Linked DNA regions of Homo sapiens: regions 1 and 3 are each linked to region 2. Evidence: promoter capture Hi-C in 16 types of primary human blood cells and fetal thymus (Javierre and others, 2016). All regions are on one chromosome and are shown on one strand. The core of a region is centred on a gene start or on the middle of the fragment in contact, and the rest is flanking DNA. Distances in the headings are between cores, read along the strand shown.

Evidence for each region. Contacts are between HindIII fragments. The CHiCAGO score rates a contact against its expected background, and 5 or more counts as called.
Region 1: a fragment that was not itself captured here is called in contact with the fragment with the promoter of DISP1 in region 2 in 6 of 17 cell types (megakaryocytes, endothelial precursors, M1 macrophages and 3 more); the score reaches 12.2 in megakaryocytes.
Region 3: a contact is called between a fragment that was not itself captured here and the fragment with the promoter of DISP1 in region 2, in 1 of 17 cell types (megakaryocytes). The highest score is 7.1, in megakaryocytes.

What each region holds. Positions count from the first base shown.
Region 1 is chr1:222,994,140-222,998,059 of GRCh38, reverse strand. DISP1 (dispatched RND transporter family member 1) reads right to left here. Exons shown (of 9, transcript NM_001377229.1): 8 at 3,078-3,175. Among named protein-coding and RNA genes, the nearest start is that of TLR5, 150 kb to the left of the region's middle. The HindIII fragment of the contact is 2,907 bases long and covers 1,201-3,920 here.
Region 2 is chr1:222,813,058-222,816,644 of GRCh38, reverse strand. It overlaps DISP1 (dispatched RND transporter family member 1), which reads right to left and starts at 1,606. Exons shown (of 9, transcript NM_001377229.1): 1 at 1,567-1,606. RefSeq lists silencers at 1,646-1,745, 1,836-1,915 and an enhancer at 2,156-2,215. The HindIII fragment of the contact is 6,781 bases long and covers 1-2,838 here.
Region 3 is chr1:222,976,605-222,980,304 of GRCh38, reverse strand. All of the region lies in intron 3 of DISP1 (dispatched RND transporter family member 1), which reads right to left. Among named protein-coding and RNA genes, the nearest start is that of DISP1, 160 kb to the right of the region's middle. The HindIII fragment of the contact is 5,518 bases long and covers 1-3,700 here.

The DNA of each region.
Region 1 (3,920 bases), core at 1,405-3,904, 180 kb before region 2:
GAAAGGTTTATTATTCCAGGTTCATAGAGTTTGAGACTAGAATACAAAGGTGTTTATAATTGGTAAAAATAGTATTTAACAAGCTAAAATGATAACCATACTCTTTGAGGTAGACTTTTGGGGCTTTGATCACCTATTTATTCATTTGTTGGTATGGATCTATAATTGGCCATACCAACCATTCATTTTGACACATGTCTTGAGTCTGTTTCTCAAATTCTCACAAGAGCACCGCAATACTGCTCTCTTCCTAATTAACTGCCAAAGCATATAGATAATGCTTTTAGTTGTTGACTTAGAAAATATGTACTAAAAACATGTAGTTGTACTGTTCTTGCCAGGGATTACAAACTTAAACTCACAGCTGTCCTATCCTTATCAACTCGGTAGAAAGATAGACAAGCAGAGTACATCTATTCCTTTAGATAATCTAAATTATGCAAATGCAACAAGCTAAACCATTAGAAAGCCACATAGATTCCATTGCTTTGATCTCTTATAGAAATGCTTTTACTGTAATGTTTTCTTGCTACCAGCCTACCTATGTTTTGCAAATCAGCTGAACTTTAATATTGTATCTCTTCTAAGCACGCTGTTAAAAATTTTGTACACAGTGTCACACTTCTTTTATGAAGACTATGGGGGAACTGTCTCCTCCCGTCTTAGCAGGAGGAAAAGCTGGGCTTCTAAAAAACAAACTTGTTACCCTATTTATATGACTTTTGTTACTGATTGTGAATCCTTTTTGCTCTGGCTGCTGGGAGGTTACAGATAAGTTTGCAGCTCCCATCAGCAAATGTACAAGATTGTGGGGTGTGCATTAGTATAAATCTCATCCTTAGCTTTATTATTTTCCTCCCATTGTTTTCCCTTCATGTATTTCATTCAACTTATTTATCTCATCCTTTGCATATGCTTTTCTGTAAACTACCTCAACATGATGATTTTTATCATCTATCTATCTATATAAATCATGTTGAGGTAGTTTACAAATATATATATATATATAGAGAGAGAGAGAGAGACAGAGAGAGAGGAGAGATGAGAGACTATACTACTTTTATTTATGAAAGCCACCATGGCGTACTATTGCTTACTGGCTTTTGAGTCTCAGAGTCTAACATGTACTCATGGAATAAATTGCTAGCTCTTTAAGAAAAAAAAGGATACTTATTCCAGACCACAGTGACTTTTTAAGCTTCATTTGTGTGGGAAATGGCATATACAGGAAACAAAACGGGGGAGGTATCTTCCTCACTAGAAGCATAAAGCAGGGTGGGTAAAGGCAGACGCTGGAGTTCAACTTGGCTGGGTTCCAATCCTGGAAGTGCCCCTGACCAAAGATGTGAACTTTCCTCAACTGAAAAATGGGCTATTTAGTATTTAATTCACAACACTGTCATTGGGATTAAATGAAATAATGTATTAAAGTATTTAGAACACTTCCTGGCACATGGTAAATACTCACTAAATATCAGCTATTAATTAACTGAGTGAATTCAATCACTTCAGAGTCTTCAGGAAAGGGAAGGTCTGAAGATCAACCAAAGGTAGAAGAATGAGGACAAGAAGGAATAGAAATTAATGAACTGTACTCATCCAAGGTGAGATTATAAAGTAACCAGACTGGCTTAGCTTCTCTTAGCTTAATTTATCATCCGTGTAAAATGCATTGTAAATTCCAAGGTCACAGATCCACTGTGAGTGATGTACAAGTACCCAGCATAAAGTCTTGCACATAGTAAATTTCGCTACACATTTACAACTTTAGAGTTAATTTTCTGTATAAGAAGTATCCTAATGCATGACAAAGAGAAATAGGTTCATAGCCTTCAAATAAGGAACTGATAGCTGTAGAAGAGAAGAAAACATCACAAATAAAAATTGATCACCAATTAAGAAACTTTGGTCTATTTATAGATCGTTTGTGGCTTTGGTCTATGTGAAAGGAAGATAGCACTGACAGAAAATCCTGATACCTCAGTCGATTGGAAAGTCATTTTCAAAATGTACAAACAGCCTCTTAGAATGAAGGATGGGGTAAATCTGGGAGGTCTGGGACCAACTAACTAGGTTACCTGGTTAAGATACTTAGTTCTTAGAAGGTACTCATGTTAGTACAATGAGACTGCTGGTTTGGGTGATCTCTTCTTTCCTTTCTACTGCCTATTTCATTAAGAAATTTCCCTGTTGACCGAACAGGTGATTGCATGAGGTGGTCAGGCTAGCTCTCAGCACGGCACATGATTCGATTTTTTAACCAGTCATTTTACATTTTAGAGTTATGCTGAGAACACAAAGAGTTCCTTTTATGCTGGTTGCTATGCTTGGACAAGTTCATTAGTGACATCAGATAGCAGTTTCTATTTAGAGAAACTATCTCTGAACATATGAAATTGACAGCTCTTCCAAACCCAGAAGCTCACTACATTTTCTGATGCGGACATGTTTTTGGCTGTAGAGAAGACTGAGAGACAAAGCGCCTGTCTTCTTGCATCCCGGTGTCTCCCGAAGCAGCAAGGTGTTTAGCATTCAGGGCAGTTTGGATTGGATTACTGTGGTCATTTACATAGATACTGTATTTATGCTCTTTGATGTCCCCTTTCCCAGCCTGCTCCCTAAATTTCCCTTTGAGGTCACTGGCCCAAATGACCCAGTGATTGCCAGAGAGGCAGGCATTTCATTGCACAATTAAGATGCTGACAACTGCCTCAGGGCAGGAAATAGGGAACAATGAAACTAGGTTAGGAAATAAAAATACAACAAAAGAAGAAAAACAGTCTTAAATATTATACTGAAAAGAAATACTATGTGAAATAACAGAAAACACCATCAACAGCCAGAGATCATGAATGGGAAAGAAAAAGGAAGATGGTATGTTTTAAAGTTGAAGGAAACACGGACACTTTGATCCTGGGATCTGAAAGAATGCAAAGCTGGCCTGCTGGAGTTTACTCCTCAGTAGGTAAGCCTCTGAAGTACTTTCATCTGATCAGAAACCAGGGTCAGCAGTAAAAGGAGTTTCAATAATACAACCTTATTTGTGCTAAGGAGATTTTAGTTTTTATCTTACATACCCTGGAATTATCTACATTGCACATTGATTTAATTGCAGGTAAATTCCATAATGTCTCCCCTCCAGATGAAGTAAATACCACTCTGGAATATCGGTCACCTGGTGATATGAAAAAAAAAAGGAAAGAAAAAGGTTTATAAATTATTCATTTATTTCATAAGACTCAGGATTTGGAAATAATTCAAACTGGGAAACCACATGGATGATTCATTAGCAGCAGGAAATTCTTTCCTTTGATAAATTCCAGGAGAAAATGTTAAAAGAAAAAAAAAAGCAATGCCATAATATTGTCTTAGCGCAAAGCCTTTGTCTACTCACTACATCTTAAAATTGTATGAATTATATAGCAAATCTATTTTTGGTCAGACTATAGGAAGAAAAATCCACAGGAATTTACAACAGGAAACGAATTGAATATATCCCTCTTAATTTCACAACACATCACCCTAATACAAAAAGATGCACTAGGGAATACCAAGAATGGATTATAGGGATGTTCTCCCTGGCAGCTAACTAGAGAGGAGAGATGGTGGGTGATCTATTTAAAATCGCTAAAAACAGCCAACTAAGTACAGAATGCTGGCCACATTCTGGTCGAGTACATGGTCTCTCTGGTACACTAGAGGCTAGAAAAAATATTTTGAAAATCAGATTAACAAAAAAATATGTTTCTGAATAAGGGAGGTTGTATGATATACCAGAAAGAGCATGCATGGTCTTTAAAGTCAGATTAGGATATAACCAGGTCCTGTCATTTACTAGCTACGTGACCTTAGGCAACTAACAACTTCTCTGAGCCTTGGTTCTTCATTTGTAAAATGCAGACAGCAATATCTATCTCAAA
Region 2 (3,587 bases), core at 357-2,856:
AGGCCATCAAGAATTTATAAGCTAGCAAGATATCGCAGTACCAATAAATATAAAATGTTCTAGTTTTCCTGAATTAGTTCAAGTCAGACCACCAAATCAGATCTAAAAGTTACCTGTACTAATACAGTAATTTTTAAAACAAAAACTTCTAACATTTGAAATGTGAAACACCTGAAACAAGCAAAGCAATCATCAGATCTCACCCTCCATCAGTGACAGTGTTATGATTCTTCCTAGCTACCTTGCTCACTTTGTGGCAAAAATCCAATTCACTTACTACCTACTTAAAAGCTAGGAGAATCTTTGTAATTACACTGAGTGAAACACTATATTATGTAGATTAGGAAGCACATATTAATCACATCCAATAAAACATAAATGCAAGGTAAATAATAACTAAATCAATAATTACCTTTGGTAATAATAATGAGCCCACATACCAAACACTGGCCACTGGGGAAAACTAAATGTGCTAATGTGCGTGTAACAACAGATCTTGGGTTATCAATATTTTTAAAAAACACTGACAATGGCAAATATTTATATATATATATATATATATATATATATATTTCCTTACAGCAGAAATAAAAAGGAACAGTAAAATCTTAAGAACTGCTAGTAATTTGCTGCACCCTGATGTAAAATTGCCTTTATTGGTTAAACTAAAAGACTAAACCCAACAAAATAGCTTTTAGAAAAAATGTGTTAGAAAGTTGGACAGAAAAACAATGAGTTGAAACTGCAAACATTGACAGCACTGGCTTTCCATGTGATTATCACCATAATTCTGAACGCATTTAGTTCATCCCATGACAAGGGAAATAAGACAAGCTAAACTCTGCAGGGTAGAGAAGAGTCCAAAAGGAAAACTTTGGTTGTCTTCCTTGGGTGAAGAGAACTCTCAACTACTATCAGTTTGACAAAGACACGCAGAATCTGGGTGAAGCAAGAATTCGAGCGGTCCCTAGGAATATACAATATTTTCCCGAAATCCACACGCGCGGAGCGGGATATATTTCTAAAAACAAAAAACAAACTGCATGAATTGCAAATGAAGCAATAGGAGTTCAGCATCCAATAGGTGGCTGGTCATCTTTCTGGTTCGTTAGGTCAAGACGTCCTTCTCACCTACGACCCTCAGAGAAGGACTGACTCCCTCCTCTGTAACCTCTCCCTGGAAGCCAACCTTTGCCATCTCCTGCCATCCTCTCAGTCAATCCGCCAGGACCCGGGACACGCCCCCACGAATGACTACTTTCCTCCGAGATGCAACTCTGCCCCGTGTCATCCGCAACCTCCAGTCTCAGGGCCTCTTTGGCCTCAGGGTCCCCGGTGCCTCCCTCCTCAGTCCCTAAAGGCTGCCCTTAGGGCTCTCCTGGTTCCCCGTTCTCAGTCCTGGCCCTTCTCTCAAGCCTGGGGTCCCGGATTTCCCTCCACACGCGCGGGAGATGCCGACTCTCCCGTCCCTACCCGGTCTCCCAGTCCCGCGGCGCCGGGCGGCGGCGCGCCGAAAGGCATCCACTGAGGAAACAAGTGCCTGCAACGTTCCGGCTGCGAACTCACCTCCAGTCCGGGCTCTCGGATGCTGGCCCGGAGCCGGGCTTCCGCCTGGCGCGGTCCGCGTCGCGAGCGGGACCGGAAGTCCCGCCCCTCGCCCGCTCCCGGCCCGCTCCCGGCCCGCTGGCCTCGCTTGACTACCGCTCCCCGGGAGAGGGATCGCCGGCGGCGGGCGACGGGCGGCTGGCAAGGGGCAGAGGGCAGAGGGGCTTGGCTTGAAAGGGCGAGGCAGGCGCCAAAAAAATTCCCTCTCGCGCTCCTGCTCTTTCTAGTGTATCCATCGACCAGTGTGCAAATGCTTGACCAAGCGTCTATTCTGCCCAAGCCCAGTGAGGCACAAGATGACTCAGACACTGACCTCTGTCCTCACAATCTAGTTAAAAGTTGACATAAGTAAAAACAGAAGTAAATCACGCCACAAGACAGTGTTTCTTCTTTCATTATTCAGATTATTATCACCTGCTATATAGGCCTGTGAACAACCAGGCACTGCTGTAGGGGCTGGGGATAGAGCGAACAGAGGACAGCCCCACTCTCGTGAGGCTTACACTCAGGGCGAGGAACTAGCTATAGAATAAATCGAACAGCGGCGGCTCCCTCGGGAGGCTTATGCACAGAAACAAAAATATATAAGCAATGAAACCATCAAGTGTTAGAGGCACTCTGGTGGTGCTGTAGGGAACGGTGCAATGTAGAGAGCTGGGCGGAGAAGGCTTTCTAGAAATAATGACTCTTCAATTGAGACTGAAATAAATGATGAATAAGAGTTAAAGGACAGGCACAGTGGAGAAGGGCATGCAGAGAAGAAGGACGTTATGGAGTGAGAGCTTGGCTTGTACCGGTAGCTGGCCAGGAGTTAAGCAAAGTGTCAGATGGCAGATGCAAGAGCAAGCATAATGAGAAGAGACAAGGCCAAATCATGAAGAACGTTGTGCCCTATGCTTAAAAATTTTGGACTTCAGAGACTCCGTGCAACGGAATCCGTGGGGTCATCTAAGGGAATAGACAAAACAGTGAGTCATGGGGTTGACTAGGGGGATTGTCCTAGTCATCAAAGAAAAATAATACATCATGAATAGCATGTTTTATCCTTGAGGGTGCTTTCTTGAACTGCCATACCCAGATGTAAAGGCAATAGACGGCTACCACAACCCTATAAAGGCAGGACCACAAGGGATCATACCCCTCAGGTTGCTGCATTGAGCAAATCACCCCAACCAACTGAGATGCTAACTGAAGTCACAGGGAACTATGGAATGGGCCCAGAAGAAAGAAGCTTCAACACCAGCTACAGTAATGAGGACTGTTGCATTTTTTGTTTGTTTTCTTTGCTACCAGTGTTTAATAAATACTCTCTTGCACACCAAGCCCTTTCTTTGCCTTTTTAAAAAGGAATGGTATAATACATACATTTTTCTTTTTTTCTCCTTTTGCCAGCAAAAGGCCATACATTGCAATATATGGAGATAGGATTACAGTAGAAGAAAATGAGGAATGGATATCGTGTAGAAAGTCTGTACTTAGAGGGCATAACATCAACTCTAAGTGAAGTAAAAGGTCACGCGTTTGGGTTTTCTCCCATTGGGAAGGTTAGTAGTCCATTTGTGGTGATACTTGAAATAACTGATTCACATAGCGGCAAGGTGTATTTTTGAAAGGATGGAAAGAAGAGAGTGTGTATGTGGTGTGATGTGGGGGGTGTGTGTGTGTGTGTGTGTGTGTGTGTGTGTGCCCACGCTGGGTGCCAAGAAGTAGAATGTAATAGACACTCTGTGAAATGTTTCCTTATAGCTTCTCACAATTCCTTTTTTTGTAGGAATGGCTGAAATACATAGAGGCAGTCCTTTTATGGGCCACATATGCACAAGCGACCATGTCCTAGTGTGACCAGCTACTCTGGTTTGCTAAAGACAGGGGGATACCAGGATGCTGGACTTTCGGTGCTTAAACTGGGATAGTTTTGCGAAAACTGAGACAAGTTGGTTGCGCTACCATGTCCCTTGTCTACATAACAGATTAATTCAGAG
Region 3 (3,700 bases), core at 342-2,841, 160 kb before region 2:
CTGTTCAATGCTGCAGGAACCATTAGTTTGTTGGTTAATCAGAAAGGTTAATTAAAGAGAAACATTTTTTGAAGTTCTACATACATTCCTTAAATATCTAATAGTAACTTAAACATAAATGTTAATCTGTTCTTACATAAACCATAGACCTGCTGCATTGTCTATGACTGAGTTTTTGAGGACTTTGGATACTTTTGAGTATCCTGGATATACTGACTACAATACACAACTAAATTTTGATGATTTTTTTCCCCAGATCTTTTACAATTTTCTCTTCCATGCCTAATTCAGCAGTAAAATTTTTTTGTAGCAATTAACCTTTTTTTCCTAAGGCTACAATTTTCTTTTCGTGAAAACAACTTTTTCTTTTAGCATCTATATATAAGTGAACTAAAAACATTAATCAGATAACATAATTACCAAAACAAGCCAACTGGCATGCGTGGGTTTGGTAAGCACACTTGTCAAATGCTGGGAGCAGAAGTGTGTGGCTGTAGGAGACAGCAGCCTCCTGACCTGCAGCGCTCAGCTGGCCAGGGCTATCCAAGTATGCATAGAGGGACGGAGTGCAGGGCCACTCCAGTGAGCTGGTGAGGGCTTAGCAGCTTTACACAGACTGGGCTTTCAGTGAACACGTTCACATCTGAAGAAGCCATGAAGCACACTTAGTTTTTCTGGTGAATCTACAAAAGACCAAAAACCCCCAAAAGCTGTATTTTCAAATACAATTACACATTGATTTTTCAATGAGTTTTATTGAGATATAATTCATATACCACATAATTCACCCAATTAAGTGTACAATTCCATGTTTTCAGTACTTTCATGAGTTATGCAACCATCACTACAACTATAAATTAATTTTATTTAAAAATTTTTAAATTTAAATTTTTTTTTTGAGACAAGGTCTTGCTCTGTCACCCAGGCTGGAGTGCAGTGGGCCAGCTCACTGTAGTCTCAATTTCCTGGGCTCAAGTAATCCTCCCACCTCAGCCTCCTGAGTAGTTGGGACCACAGGCGTGCGCCATGACACCCAGTTAATTTTTTAGATTTTTTATTTGTAGATGTGGGGTCTCCCTGTGCTGCCTATGCTGGTCTTAAACTCCTGGGCTCAAGTGACACTCTCGCCCAGGCTCCCAAAGTGCTGGGATTACAGGCGTGAGCCCCTGTGCCCAGCTTATATATTGATTCTAGCCCAAGGTAATTTATAGATTCAATGCCATCCCCATCAAGCTACCAATGACTTTCTTCACAGAATTGGAAAAAACTACTTTAAAGTTCATATGGAACCAAAAAAGAGCCTGCATCGCCAAGTCAATCCTAAGCCAAAAGAACAAAGCTGGAGGCATCATGCTACCGGACTTCAAACTATACTACAAGGCTACAGTAACCAAAACAGCATGGTACTGGTACCAAAACAGAGAGATAGACCAATGGAACAGAACACAGCCCTCAGAAATAATGCCACATATCTACAACTATCTGATCTTTGACAAACCTGACAAAAACAAGAAATGGGGAAATGATTCCCTATTTAATAAATGGTGCTGGGAAAACTGGCTAGCCATATGTAGAAAGCTGAAATTGGATCCCTTCCTTACACCTTATACAAAAATTAATTCAAGATGGATTAAAGACTTAAATGTTAGACCTAAAACCATAAAAACCCTAGAAGAAAACCTAGGCAATACCATTCAGGACACAGGCATGGGCAAAGACTTCATGTCTAAAACACCAAAAGCAATGGCAACAAAAGCCAAAATTGACAAATCGGATCTAATTAAACTAAAGAGCTTCTGTACAGCAAAAGAAACTACCAACAGAGTGAACAGGCAACCTACAGAATGGAGAAAATTTTTGCAATCTACTCATCTGACAACGGGCTAATATCCAGAATCTACAATGAACTCAAACAAATTTACAAGAAAAAACAAACAACCCCATCAAAAAGTGGGCGAAGGATATGAACAGACACTTCTCAAAAGAAGACATTTATGCAGCCAAAAAACACATGAAAAAATGCTCATCATCACTGGCCATCAGAGAAATGCAAATCAAAACCACAACGAGATACCATCTCACACCAGTTAGAATGGCAATCATTAAAAAGTCAGGAAACAACACGTGCTGGAGAGGATGTAGACAAATAGGAACACTTTTACACTGGGACCGTAAACTAGTTCAACCATTGTGGAAGTCGTTGTGGAAGGGATCTAGAACTAGAAATACCATTTGACCCAGCCATCCCATTACTGGGTATATACCCAAAGGATTATAAATCATGCTGCTATAAAGACACATGCACACGTATGTTTATTGTGGCACTATTCACAATAGCAAAGACTTGGAACCAACCCAAATGTCCATCAATGATAGACTGGATTAAGAAAATGTGGCACATATACACCATGGAATACTATGCAGCCATAAAAAGTGATGAGTTCATGTCCTTTGTAGGAACATGGATGAAGCTGGAAACCATCATTCTCAGCAAACTATCGCAAGGACAAAAAACCAAACACTGCATGTTCTCACTCATAGGTGGGAATTGAACAATGAGAACACATGGACACAGGAAGGGGAATATCACACACCGGGGCCTGTTGTGGGGTCGGGGGAGAGGGGAGGGATAGCATTAGGAGATATACCTAATGTTAAATGACGAGTTAATGGGTGCAGCACACCAACATGGCACATGTATACATATGTAACTAACCTGCACGTTGTGCACATATACCTAAGACTTAAAGTATAATAAAAAAAAAAAAAAGAATTTAAAAAAAAAAGAAAATGACAATGATGTCATAAAAATATAGTGACAAGTAATCTAAGAAGTACATGTAAAGTTATGGGAGTTAGACAAAAAATATTTGTAATTAAGCCTTTCCAAGACAAGACAACTAAGTCCTTAACAAATAAAACAATATTTGTCAGCCCTCTTTGAAAAAAAAAAAAAAAAAAAGAATATGCTGACCGGGCGTGGTGGCTCATGCCTGTAATCCCAGCACTTTGGGAGGCCAGAGCTGGCAGATCACCTGAGGTCGGAAGTTCAAGAGCAGCCTGACCAACATGGAGAAACCCCATCTCTGCTAAAAAAAAATACAAAAACTAGCCGGGCATGGTGGTGCATGCATGTAATCCCAGCTACTCAGGAGGCTGAGGCAGGAGAATCGCTTGAACCTGGGAGGCGGAGGTTGCGGTGAACCGAGATCGCGCCATTGTACTCCAGCCTGGGCAATAAGAGCGAAACTCCGTCTCAAAAAAAAGAATATGCTATCTGAACACCAGTGATGAAACTATTAATGAGCTATGAAAGCAAATGTGTTTTTCCAGAGAGTAAGGCAGTGGACAAGGAAGCAAATCACTTGTATACAAAAATCTTAATTTTTCAATCCCATTTTTTCACTTATGCATTCTTAAAAATACATCTTGAATTTCCAAGAGAAATTAGGAGATTTTGCTATCTTTGGAACTAAAATTATCCTCACAGCCATAATTCTGGAACATGTACTGAGCAAAGAAATGTATTTTGTTACAGACATTTGGGTTGTAACAAATGTAAACCCTCTCTCTGCCACTAACTTTTTCTTTTAACTAAATAGAAATTCATGGATCTATGACTAATTTACTCCCTGGAGAGAAACAACTATAGATTCATCACAGTCTTTCTGCTTGAGTAAAGATTTCATTTTATGTTAAA